2 separate regions of the Homo sapiens genome follow, and region 2 is linked to region 1. Evidence: promoter capture Hi-C in 16 types of primary human blood cells and fetal thymus (Javierre and others, 2016). All regions are on one chromosome and are shown on one strand. Each heading gives the region's core, a stretch centred on a gene start or on the middle of the fragment in contact. The rest is flanking DNA. Distances are from core to core; before and after follow the strand shown. Region 1 holds the start of CDK5R1 (cyclin dependent kinase 5 regulatory subunit 1). Region 2 overlaps MYO1D (myosin ID).

Region 1 (6,017 bases), core at 2,643-5,142:
TGCTGTCCAATATGTAGCCGCTAGCCATGTGCAGCTGTCAGGCCCTTGCAACGTGGCTGGTTCGAGCTGTGATACACTGCAAGTGTAAACACAAACCAGACTTCGAAGGCTTAGTATGATAACAAAAGAAAAGGAGTGTAAAATATGTCAATAACTTTTTTATATATGTGTTGAAATATTTTGGGTATTGGGTTAAATAAAATATATTATTAAAATTCACCTGTTTCCCTTTTACTTGTGTAATGTGGCTGCTAGAAAATATAAAGTTACCTATGTGGCTTCTATCTGGACAGCGCAGCTCTAGACCTCCAGGACCAGCAGTTGTGTCACTGCCTCCTCTCCCAGGCCTCTCATGACCTGAGTCCAGGCACAGCTGGGAAGGTCAGCTGGCCGGTGGGCTGGCCTGGGCCCGGCTCCCTCACCTCCCTTCTGGGCTCCAGCCTTCATGGTGCCAGGACTTTCTTGTGTGTTAATGAGACTCTACTGGAGTTGGGAGCAGAGGCTCTGGTCCCCTGCTGTGTGCTAGTTATGTAATCTGTGCTGCTCAGAAGGGCCACTAGATGCTGCTCTGTGATCCCTGAAAGAACAAAGCCGACTTCCTCAGGAGTAAGGGCTCAGGCCTGCTCTATTTGGAACCCTTCTTGGAAGCTGTAGCTGGCCCCCGCCTTGACCTCCCTCCCTCGGGATGCTATGGGAAGTGGGGCATGCAGGAAGAGTGGACTCTCCGGCAGTCCACGGGCAGCCCAGCCCAGCAGGGAAGCTAACAAGCAGGCTGGCCCTTCAGGCAGCTAGAGATAGGCAATAGGCTAAGTAGGCTGATTGATGGGGGTGGGATTTGGAAATCTTCCCTGCAGTTCTATGATGAAGGCAGCTAGGAAGAAAACAGCTCTGCCTCATTCAACTGGGTCTGCCTTCTGGGTCCTTGGTTCTGCCATTTCTGGCAGTTGACTGTCCTTTCTTCCTTGCTTCCAGTTGGAGCAGTGATAGGAACTGGGGGTGGGGAGGTGGTGGTGGGTTGAATGAAAAGAGGAGCTCTGTGGTGTCTGAAAACCAGCATAACAGGCATGGCCTGGGTGATAGGAGCTCCTGGAGACCCCTCCCTTAGTCGCAGCAGCAAGTGGGCTGCCAGTGCCATCCCATTCCTGCTGTGCTGCAACTGTGACTTTGCCTTGGGCAAGTGTGAGGAGGCTGGTGTTCTGCCGAGAGCTCTGTTTGAAGGTGCTAGGGAAAGGCTGGCTGGACAAAGGTGAGAAGACACAGGGTATGGCCTGGCTTGAAAAGGCCCATGCAGAGGCATGCTGCTGCAGAGTGGGAAGCAGGGTAGTGGGGTGAGCTTGGTCCGCCTCCCCGTGAATTGGAATAGCTAGAATTGAGATTGAGAGTTAAAGGTAACAGAGTGGGCCCAGGTTTTTCTAGGGGGTGGATTTTTCTTTTTTTAGCCGAAGTGTCACTCTGTCACCCAGGCTGGAATGCAGTGGCACAATCTCAGCTCACTGCAACCTCTGCCTCCCGGGTTCAAGCTATTCTCCTGCCTCAGCCTCCCGAGTAGCTGGGATTATAGGCACCCGCCACCACGCCCAGCTAATTTTTTTAGTAGAGACGGGTTTCACCATGTTGGCCAGGCTGGTCTCAAACTCCTGACCTCAGGTGATCCGCCCGCCTTGGCCTCTGAAACTGCTGGACACAGTGTGGCCATCACGCCTGGCCGGGGTGGATTATAGGCTTCAAAATTTGGACATATTTTGGGAAGTGGAAAACATTTAACCTTGGCTCAACACTAGAATCTGAAGGGGGGCACAGAGCCAACTCAGGAGCTAGAGGCTCCAAGTAAGGGCTGAGGAAAAGAGGCTGGGGTTCGGCTTTCCTTTGAGAAGGAAAAGGGACACTTGGTCAGGGTCTCGAAGCAAATCGTTTCTTCTGGCTTTTTTTTTTTTTTTTTTTTTTTTTTTGAGATGGAGTTTCGCTCTTGTTGCCCAGGCTGGAGTGCAATGGTGCAATCTCGGCCCACTGCAACCTCTGTCTCCCAGGTTCAAGCGATTCTCCTGCCTCAGCCTCCTGAGTAGCTGAGATTACAGGTGCCTGCCACCACGCCTGGCTAATTTTTTTTGTATTTTTAGTAGAGACGGGGTTTCACCATGTTGGCTAGGCTGGTCTCGAACTCCTGACCTCAGGTGATCCACCCGCCTCGGCCTCCCAAAATACTGGGATTACAAGCATGAGCCACTGCGTCGGCCTCTTCTGGCTTCTTACTGTTACATGCAGGAGGGTTGAGGACAGCTCCATTTGAAGAGCAGGTAGGCTTGTACACTGAGGAACATTCACAGGGAGGGGCGCACTGAGCTGGGGGCCTGCCTTCCTCTTCTGAGTTCCCATAACAGCTGTTGTGGATGTTCTGAAAGGCTGTGGACAAAGTAGCCCTCTGGGTACAGAGCAATGCATTTTCCACTGTATGCCTTGCCCCCCAAGGTTCCTAAAGCCTGGAATTCCTATTGACAGAAATCTGAGTGGCACATAAACAAAACCCAGCACTTTCTGCCTTGATTGCACCATTTTGAATGATGCCAGATTCCCTTTCTGTTCCCCCTAGGACAGTTGACAGGGCTGGTGAAAGCCTAGTCGGCTGGAGTGGTCAGGTAACTGGGTGGCATCCTCTCCTCTGGAGAGCCACTCCCTCATCTCTAGGTCCAGAGATAATCTGGATTAAGACAGGGCTTAAGTTTCCTGTTTCCCAGGTTTGTGGTCAGTTTTGACTCGATCTCCAGAAACAAGGTAAAATAGTAAATGAACAACAGCCTTTGTGAAGGATCTGGATTCACATCTGACAGGAACAGCTTTCAGAAACAGAATTTTACTCAATTTCGCTAGCATCAAGTTCTCAAATTATACATACTTAGAATTGAAAACGTTTAAGAGGGTCAGAAAGCTGGCCGGAGGGGCAGTTGCTTCAGCTTTAATATGACAAATAAGAGGGCGAGTGGGAACTTAGAGGTCATATTTGTGACGGGCTCAGGCTTGGCTACGGGCCACGCTTCTCTGGCTTGGATCTCTGAGGCCCACTTCGGCCGCGGTCATCTACCCATGATGAGGGAACGGAGGCCCCGGAGGGGTGGCCAGAACCGATTGGACTGTCCACTCGAGGTGCGCGTGGCACTCGGGAGGCCTCAGTAAAGGCGTCGCCTCTCCCCGCCCAGGGCCTTCTTCCCCGCGCTCCCTGGCTGCTTTCCACAGGGACGGGGATGTCAGGTGGAAGGAGGGAGCTCCGGACCCTGGCCTCGGCGGAGGGCTCCTCACCAGGCCAGGGCGGCAGCCTCAGAGAGGGCGGGCCGCGCGCTGCCAGGGCAGGGACTCGGCCGAGAGTGCCCCCGCGGCCGGCAGCTGCGGGCGCCGCGGCGGGAACAAAGGCAGCACGTGTCTGGGCGGGACGCGGGCGGGGTCGGCCCTCGGCTCCGCCCTGCTCGGCGCCCGCCCCGCGTCGGCAGAGTTGGGTTGCGCGGGCGCCGAGGACTCTCCGGCGGCCGGGCTGCTGTTGGGCGGCGGCGCGGAGCGGGCGGCGAGCTGTGCGGGAGGGGCGGCCCCGAGGGGCGGGGCGGGCCGACGCCGCGTGTCCCGCCGCAGCCGCGGAGTCCGGCTCCTAGATGGGGCCCGGCGCGTAGAGGTGCCTCCCGCTCGTTGCCGCGTCCTACCCGCACCGTGCGCGGCTCGAGCTGAGGACACCAACGGCCGCGACTCCCCGGCGAGACCAGGCCGGAGCGTGGACGGCGCGCGCGCCCCGCGAGGGAGGGCGCTGAGGCGCGCGCCGGAAGCGGGAGCGGGAGCGGGAGCGCGGCGGCGGCGGCGAAGGTGCGGGCGGCCGAGCGGGGGGCGGGGCTGCGGTGCCTGCAGAACCTTGGACAGAAGCTCCCTAGCTGCCGCCGCCGCCGCCGCCGCCGTCGCCGCCGCCGAGCGCGAGCCCAGCCGATCCCCGCCGAGCGCCCCCGAGCGCCGCCGAGCGCCGGGACCGCGGCGGCGGGGCCGCGGCGCGCATTGCGGAGGGCGCGGAGCGCAGGAGCTGCCGCCTGCCGGGTAAGCCTGCGCTGGGCGGCCGTCCTTGGCCCTGGGGAGCGGAGACCGGGGTCGCGCCCGTGCGGGGTGTCCAGGCGGGGGTCCTCGGCCGCCTCCGTCGGCGACCGGGCCCCTCCCGGCTGCGCCTGGGGACCGCAGCGGCGGCGGCGGGCGGGGGTGCTGCAGTGGAGGCGGCGAGGCTGCGTCGCGGGGGCGCGGGTAGGGCCCGGGACTGGGGCGGCGGGGTGCGCCGAGGCGCGGGGCGGAGGGGCGCAGGGGCGCAGGGGCGCGGCGCGGAGCCCAGCCTGGCGCTAAGAACCATCTTGTTTTCCAGGCAGATCCAAGGGGGCAGCACGCTTCCCGGGAGCGCCCCCGCCTCCTCTCCGGGGCCGCCGCAGGCTCGGTGAGCGGTTTTATCCCTCCGGCCGGCAGGCTGGGCGCGCAGGGGCGCGAGCCCCCGCCCGGCGCGCAGCAGCACCATGGGCACGGTGCTGTCCCTGTCTCCCAGCTACCGGAAGGCCACGCTGTTTGAGGATGGCGCGGCCACCGTGGGCCACTATACGGCCGTACAGAACAGCAAGAACGCCAAGGACAAGAACCTGAAGCGCCACTCCATCATCTCCGTGCTGCCTTGGAAGAGAATCGTGGCCGTGTCGGCCAAGAAGAAGAACTCCAAGAAGGTGCAGCCCAACAGCAGCTACCAGAACAACATCACGCACCTCAACAATGAGAACCTGAAGAAGTCGCTGTCGTGCGCCAACCTGTCCACATTCGCCCAGCCCCCACCGGCCCAGCCGCCTGCACCCCCGGCCAGCCAGCTCTCGGGTTCCCAGACCGGGGGCTCCTCCTCAGTCAAGAAAGCCCCTCACCCTGCCGTCACCTCCGCAGGGACGCCCAAACGGGTCATCGTCCAGGCGTCCACCAGTGAGCTGCTTCGCTGCCTGGGTGAGTTTCTCTGCCGCCGGTGCTACCGCCTGAAGCACCTGTCCCCCACGGACCCCGTGCTCTGGCTGCGCAGCGTGGACCGCTCGCTGCTTCTGCAGGGCTGGCAGGACCAGGGCTTCATCACGCCGGCCAACGTGGTCTTCCTCTACATGCTCTGCAGGGATGTTATCTCCTCCGAGGTGGGCTCGGATCACGAGCTCCAGGCCGTCCTGCTGACATGCCTGTACCTCTCCTACTCCTACATGGGCAACGAGATCTCCTACCCGCTCAAGCCCTTCCTGGTGGAGAGCTGCAAGGAGGCCTTTTGGGACCGTTGCCTCTCTGTCATCAACCTCATGAGCTCAAAGATGCTGCAGATAAATGCCGACCCACACTACTTCACACAGGTCTTCTCCGACCTGAAGAACGAGAGCGGCCAGGAGGACAAGAAGCGGCTCCTCCTAGGCCTGGATCGGTGAGCACTGTAGCCTGCGTCATGGCTCAAGGATTCAATGCATTTTTAAGAATTTATTATTAAATCAGTTTTGTGTACAGTATGTGTCTAGCAAAGCCACCAAGGGCCTCACCTTTCCCACAGTCTCTCCCTGGGGTTTTTTTCATCCCTGCCAAGAACTCTGGGCACTTTTGAACTCACGAGCCTTGCGCAAAACCCAGAAGATGTATTCAGAGCCACCCAGGCCACTGACCTCCCACTTTGGGGAACTCAAAGGACTGACCTGCCCCTGCCGCCTGTGCCCTTGCTGGGTCCAGGGTAGGCAAGGCTGCCGGCTGCACCCTGTATGGAGCTAGAGAGGGGCCTCTGGCTGCCTGGCCCAGGGAGGAATTGGGGTTTCTGGTTGGAGGCCCTTTTCTGGCTCCTGTGTGGAGTTATTCACTCTCCCAGAGGCTCCTGGAGCCAGCCACCCTAACTGAGCTGCCAGTGGGGTCGTGAGGCAAGATCCCCGCCACCCGGGGACATCTTCAATCTAGGCGAGGCGAAGCTGAGCGGGTCTAGTGGAAAGATTGTGTCTGGTCGTTTGACCACACACCGC
Region 2 (6,017 bases), core at 1,104-3,603, 120 kb after region 1:
AGTAGAGACAGGGTTTCACCATGTTGGCCAGGCTGGTCTCAAACTCCTGACCTCAGGTGATCAGCCCACCTCGGCCTCCAAAAGTGTTGGGATTATAGGCGTGAGCCACTGTGCCTGGCCATGAAATGTGTTTCTTAAATAATCAGGCTTGAAAGTTGAAATTACTCCTTTATCCACGGGCTGCACAATAGATGCTGTGTTTGTAGGCATGGGAACAACATTAATCAAGCCTTGTACATTTCCGTCAGTGCTCTTGGATAACTAGATGTACTGTCAATGCATAGTAATGTTTTGAAAGGAATCTTTTTTTTCTGAGCAGCAGGTCTCAACAGTGGGCTTAAAATATTCAGCAAACTATGCTATAAACAGATGTGCTGTAATCCAGGCCTTGTGTTTCATTTATAGAGCACAGGCAGAGTAGATTTTGTGTAATTTTAAGGGCCCTGGGATTTTTGGAACAGTCAGTGAGCACTGGCTTCAACTTAAAGACACTAGCTGCATTAGCTCCTAACAAAAGAGTCAGCCTGTCCTCTGAAGCTAGGCATTGACCTTCTCCTCTCTAGCTACGGAAGTCCTAGATGGCATCTTCTTCCAGTGTAAGGCTATTTTGTCTGCATTGAAAAATCTGTTGTTTCGTGTAGCCACCTTAATCAATTATCTTAGCTAGATCTTCTGAATAACTTGCCACAGCTTCTCCATCATCACTTGCTGCTTCACCTTGCACTTTTATGTTATGGAGATGTCTTCTTTTCTTAATTCTCATGAACCAACCTCTGTTAGCTTCCACTTTTCGTCTGCAGCTTCCTCACCTCTCTCAGCCTTCAAAGAATTTAAGAGAGTTTAGGGCCTTGCTCTGCATTAGGCTTTGGTTTAAGGGAATGTTGTGGCTGGTTTGATCTTTTATCCAGACCACTCAAACTTTCTCCGTATCAGCAATAAGACTGTTTCACTTTCTTATTATTCATGTATTCACTGCAGTAGCACTTTTAATTTCCTTCAAGAACTTTTCCTTTGCATTCACAACTGGGCTGTTTAATTTAAGAGGCCCAGCTTTTGGCCTATCTCAGCTTTCAACCTGCGTTCCTCACTAAGCTTAATCATTTCTAGCTTTTTCTTTTCCCTTTTTTTTTTTTTTTTGAGACAAGGTCTTGTTCTGTCACCCAGGTTGAAGTGCAGTGGCACGATCATCGCTCACTGCAGCCTTGAATTCAGCCTCTTAAGTAGCTGGGACTACAGACTACAGGTGTGCACCACCATGCTTGACTAACTTTTAAATTTTTTTGTAGAGATGGAGTCTCACTATGTTGCGCAGACCTTGGTCTGGAACTCCTGGCCTCAAGCAATCCTCCCGCTTTAACTTCCCAAAGTGCTGGGGTCGCAGGAATGAGCCATGATACCTGGCTCATTTCTAGTTTTTAAAATAAACTGAGAGATGTGTAACTCTCCCATTCACTTGAACATTTAAAAGCCACTGTAGGGTTATTAACTGACCTAATTTCAATCTTGTTGTATCTCAGGGAATAGGGGAGCCTGAGGAGAGGAAGAGAGATGAGGGAATAGATGGTCAGTGGAGCAGTCAGAACGCACACGACATTGATCAGTTAAGTCTGTTGTCCTACATGGGTACAGTTTGTGGTGCCCTGAAATGATTACAGTAATAACAAAGATCACTGATCAAAGCCCACCATAGCAGTTAATAACAATATAAAGTTTTGAAATATTATGAGAATTATCAAAATTGCTGTGGCAATTTGTTAGCTCCTAACAAAAGAGTCAGCCTGTCCTTTGAAGCTAGGCATTGACCTTCTCCTCTCTAGCTATGAAAGTTCTAGATGGCATCTTCTTCCAGTGTCCAGAGACATAAAGTGAGCATATGCTGTAGGAAAAATGGTGCTAATAGACTTGATCAATGCAGGGTTGCCATAAACCTTCAATTTATAAAAACCACAATATCTGTGAAGTGTAATAATGTCAAGAACAGTAAGACGAGGTATACCTGTACTTTATTAAAGATTGTCTTCAAATGTTTTAGCAAACATAAAATATGTGGGTGTGTACTTGGAGAGGCAGAAATAATGGGTCTGGATTGAATAAAGACTGCAGGAGGTGAAAGAGAGACTAATTTATACTTAGTTGGTTTTTGTTTCAAGATTCATGTGAAAGGAAATGCCAGGAAAGTTCTGGCTTCAACTCATGGTGATGAGGAAAAATTTATTCGAGGACATGCTTTGTCTTGTTTTGTTTTCTTTTTAAATCATGGAATATCTCAAACATCAGTGTATTTTTCATCTAGAAGTTCGATTTGGGTCTTTTTCTTACATCTTCCTTATCTCTAGTTAACTTATAAACATCTGAAATCTAGTTATAATGACTTACAATGTCTGTATCTGCTAATTCTAGTATCTTTGTCTGTTCTGGGTTGGTTTCAAAGGGATGATTCTCCCCCTCATAATGGACTGTATTTTCCTATTTGCATGCCCGTAATCTTTGACTGGATGTCAGACATTGTGAATTTTACCTGTTGGGTATGGATATTTTTGTGTTTTTAGAAATATACATGAGCTTTGTTTCAGGACATAGCTAAGTTACTTGGAAGCAGTTTGATCCTTTTGGGTCTTGCTTTTAAGATTTATTAGGTGGTACCAGAGCAGCATTTATTCTAGGGCCAATTATTCCCCCCTACTGAGGCAAAACCCTTCTGAATACTGTACCCAATTACCCTGTGAATGACGAAGTTCTTTAGTCTGCCTTGTTAGATCAGAAACTACTCCTGGCTCTTTGTGAGGCTGGGCACTGTTCCCTCTGGTCCTCTTAGCTGGTTCTTGCCTCAGCCTTGGGAAGTTTTGAGCCCTTTCCTCCCAACTGCTGACAAGAACACATCTCAGAATGTACTTTAGGGAAATTATCTGGAAGATAAAGAATTGGTCTGAAGTTAATTCCCTCCCGAACCTTTGGATTTCCATAATTAACTCAGGGACAAATAAGATTATGTGCCACAACATCATGCTTATAAAATACAATGTGAATTTCAATGTCATGGCAATGATACGATAGTTGACAATAAAGGAAAATAGCTAGAAAAAATCAAATTAACCTTTTCCCAAAAAGTAAATAGTAAGTTGATGACTAAAACTCTAAGTCAAAATTTCAAGCCTGACTTTTCTGGGGTCTGGGAGGAAAGATTTTATCTCTCATTTCCACTTCACTCTTAATTCATAAGATAGAAACACCAAGAATTAAAAAAAAAAAATCCACCAAAAAATTCCTAGCATCTTGATAGTCTTCTCTTCACATTTATAAATTTTAAAGAAATTAAAAATCCTTACATACATTAAAGATAGAGGACATACGCCTAGAAATGTACCTCAGCATGCATATGCTAGCTAGGAAAAGAAAGCAACTGATGAAATCTACATCCAGGTTCACGTATTTCTGTCACTTGTAGAAGGCACTTAATAGATCAGAATTTGCTAAATAAGCACCCAGATAGAGATAAAATACTTCAATCTCCCAGGCAAAAACTCTTGCATTCATTAGTACTGGTATCCAAATTAAGAGTAACAAATTAAAATTCCTTTAATTTTCTATACTTTGCTATAAATATTAGCAGGAAAATAAGCTTGCTTATTTGAGTTATAGACATTTATTGCAGAGATGCCTTCTTTATGTCTTTTCCTTACATTCTAAACTTTTTTTTTTTTTTTTTTTTTTGAGACAGAGTCTCCTTCTGTTGCCCAGGTTGGAGTGAAGTGGCGGGATCTTGGCTCACAGCAAGCTCCGCCTCCCAGGTTCACGCCATTCTCCTGCCTCAGCCTCCTGAGTAGCTGGGACTACAGGTGCCCGCCACCAAGCCCAGCTAATTTTTTGTATTTTTAGTAGAGACGGGGTTTCACTGTGTTACCCAGGATGGTCTCGATCTGCTGACCTCGTGATCCGCCCGCCTCAGCCTCCCAAAGTGCTGGGATTACAGGCGTGAGCCACTGCGCCTGGCCACATTCTAAACTTTTTAAAATTTTTCTTAGCTTTACATTTATTTGGCAGATGGAAAGGAATTTTCAAAAGTCTATGCATTTATTATTATTTTTGGTAATTACTTTCTTATTTTTTCCCCACAAATGACCATTAAGTATTATTTTACTTACAGCATGTAAAAGCATTTAATGATAGAAAATATTTAAAGATCTACTTTGATCTAGAATGTAAGGTGTAATAACATAAAATAAATGGTCTGTGCAGCCCACCTCTAAAATTATGCTCTATACATTTATCAGCCAAAATGAATACAATAGAATTAGATATGTGGACATCTGATTCCAAATATGTGTTTGTTGAGAGAAAGAGAAGCCACGTCTAAACTGAAAAAAAAAAACATACTAATAAGGAATACTTGATTAATTTTAGGAACTCAGGAAATGTCTTTTAGGAAGAAAAAGTAACTACACTTGTATCATTTCTTAGTCACTGATTTTGATGAGTGGTCTTCTCCCAGCATCAGGTGGGGTTGGGGAGGTGAAGGCAGCATGCCACAAAGAGAGCACTTGACTTTGGAGAGATACACCCACCCAAATACTCCATGACCCCTTATGGGAAGAGAAATCCAATCTCTGAAACAACTCCAATAAATAACCAGACAAAATCACTCCCCTGCTTAAAATTATCCATTCACTGGTCCCCATCACTCTCAGGACCTGCTCTCTGTTTATATTTATTATATCATTGTTCACCCCCCTGCCCCAGGTATCATCAGGGCTTACTATGAAGTTCTCAGATTATGCCATGTTCCATCATGACTCCATGTTTCTGCAGTGGTCACTGCCTCTCTCAGGAATTCTTGTAGTCTTCATGGACTTGCAAACCATCCCAAATCTGCCTTCTAATTTGCTTATGGTCATAGTGGACACACAAACTGATTATACTTGGGGTAAATGAGAAGCTATGACGAGAAGAATATAAAGTAATTTGTCTATCTTTTGGATTTAATTGCATTTGGATCGACAGTGGAATAAAAATCACCATTTAGGGAAATCTCTCATTGTTGGTTCAGCTGGAGGCTGGAAAAGTAGAGGATCATTCCTAACCTTGAAAGTAAGCTGGGATGCTAATTTTACCTTCTGCGAAACAGATGATTTAAGTTGTCCTTATGGAGAAAAATAGCTCAATACATTAAAATTGGCACAAAACAAGCTCAGTGATAATTACGATTAAAGATTTCATAGATTTAAAACGTGTCTTAGTTACAAAAATCAAACTTTACCTCTTGAAATGATTCACCAGCACTCCAACAAGTTCTCCAATTCGACTCTCATGGGTTGGCTGTTTGCTGAAGAGGCAGACAATGAGGTCTTTGTTGTCTTTCGTATGGAACACTACAAGTTGGTCCTTTCCATTGGAGACACTCAGACCAGTCAACTGCAAAGAGAAAATGCATGGAAAACTATTTGGATCATTCTCAAAAGAATGAATTAAAAAATACATTTTGGAGCTGGGCATGGTGGCATGTGCCTGTAGTCCCAGCTACTTGGGAGGCTGATACAGGATGATCATTTGAGCCCTGGAGTTTGAATCCAGCCTGGACAACATAACGAGACACCATCCCTAAAAACAACAAAACACGTCATACATTTTCTAAGGGTTTTGCTCAGTGACCCCCTGACTTTAATCTTCTATCAGTTTCACGGAACAAGCAGATGGAAGGAAATAATAAAGAGCAGAAATGAACAAAATTTGAAATAGAAAAACAATACAGAAAAATTAATGAAACAGGGATGGTTCTTTCAGAAGATCAATAAAATTGATAAACCTCTAGCCCAAAACAAAAAAAGAAGGAAGAACTTATTGCCAATATCAGGAATGGAAGAGGGGCCATCTCTATAGACCACACAGACATTAAAAGGATAATATTAAAATATTTGGACCAATTCTATACAAAAACTTATTCAACAACTTAGTTAAAACCAAATAATTCTGGCAGGGTGCAGTGGCTCACACCTGTAATCCTAGCACTTTGGGAGGCCAAG

Evidence for each region. Contacts are between HindIII fragments. The CHiCAGO score rates a contact against its expected background, and 5 or more counts as called.
Region 2: a contact is called between a fragment that was not itself captured here and the fragment with the promoter of CDK5R1 in region 1, in 14 of 17 cell types (naive CD4 T cells, naive CD8 T cells, total CD8 T cells and 11 more). The highest score is 33.1, in naive CD4 T cells.

The regions. Positions count from the first base shown.
Region 1 is chr17:32,483,101-32,489,117 of GRCh38, forward strand. It overlaps CDK5R1 (cyclin dependent kinase 5 regulatory subunit 1), which reads left to right and starts at 3,893. Exons shown (of 2, transcript NM_003885.3): 1 at 3,893-4,062; 2 at 4,376-6,017. The coding sequence starts at 4,521. The coding sequence ends at 5,444. PSMD11 (proteasome 26S subunit, non-ATPase 11) reads left to right here. Exons shown (of 14, transcript NM_002815.4): 14 at 1-219. RefSeq lists enhancers at 2,679-3,180, 4,420-4,979 and silencers at 3,253-3,782, 3,893-4,152, 4,243-4,532. The HindIII fragment of the contact is 10,728 bases long and covers 1-6,017 here.
Region 2 is chr17:32,599,833-32,605,849 of GRCh38, forward strand. MYO1D (myosin ID) reads right to left here. Exons shown (of 22, transcript NM_015194.3): 21 at 5,255-5,409. Among named protein-coding and RNA genes, the nearest start is that of CDK5R1, 120 kb to the left of the region's middle. The HindIII fragment of the contact is 2,527 bases long and covers 1,091-3,617 here.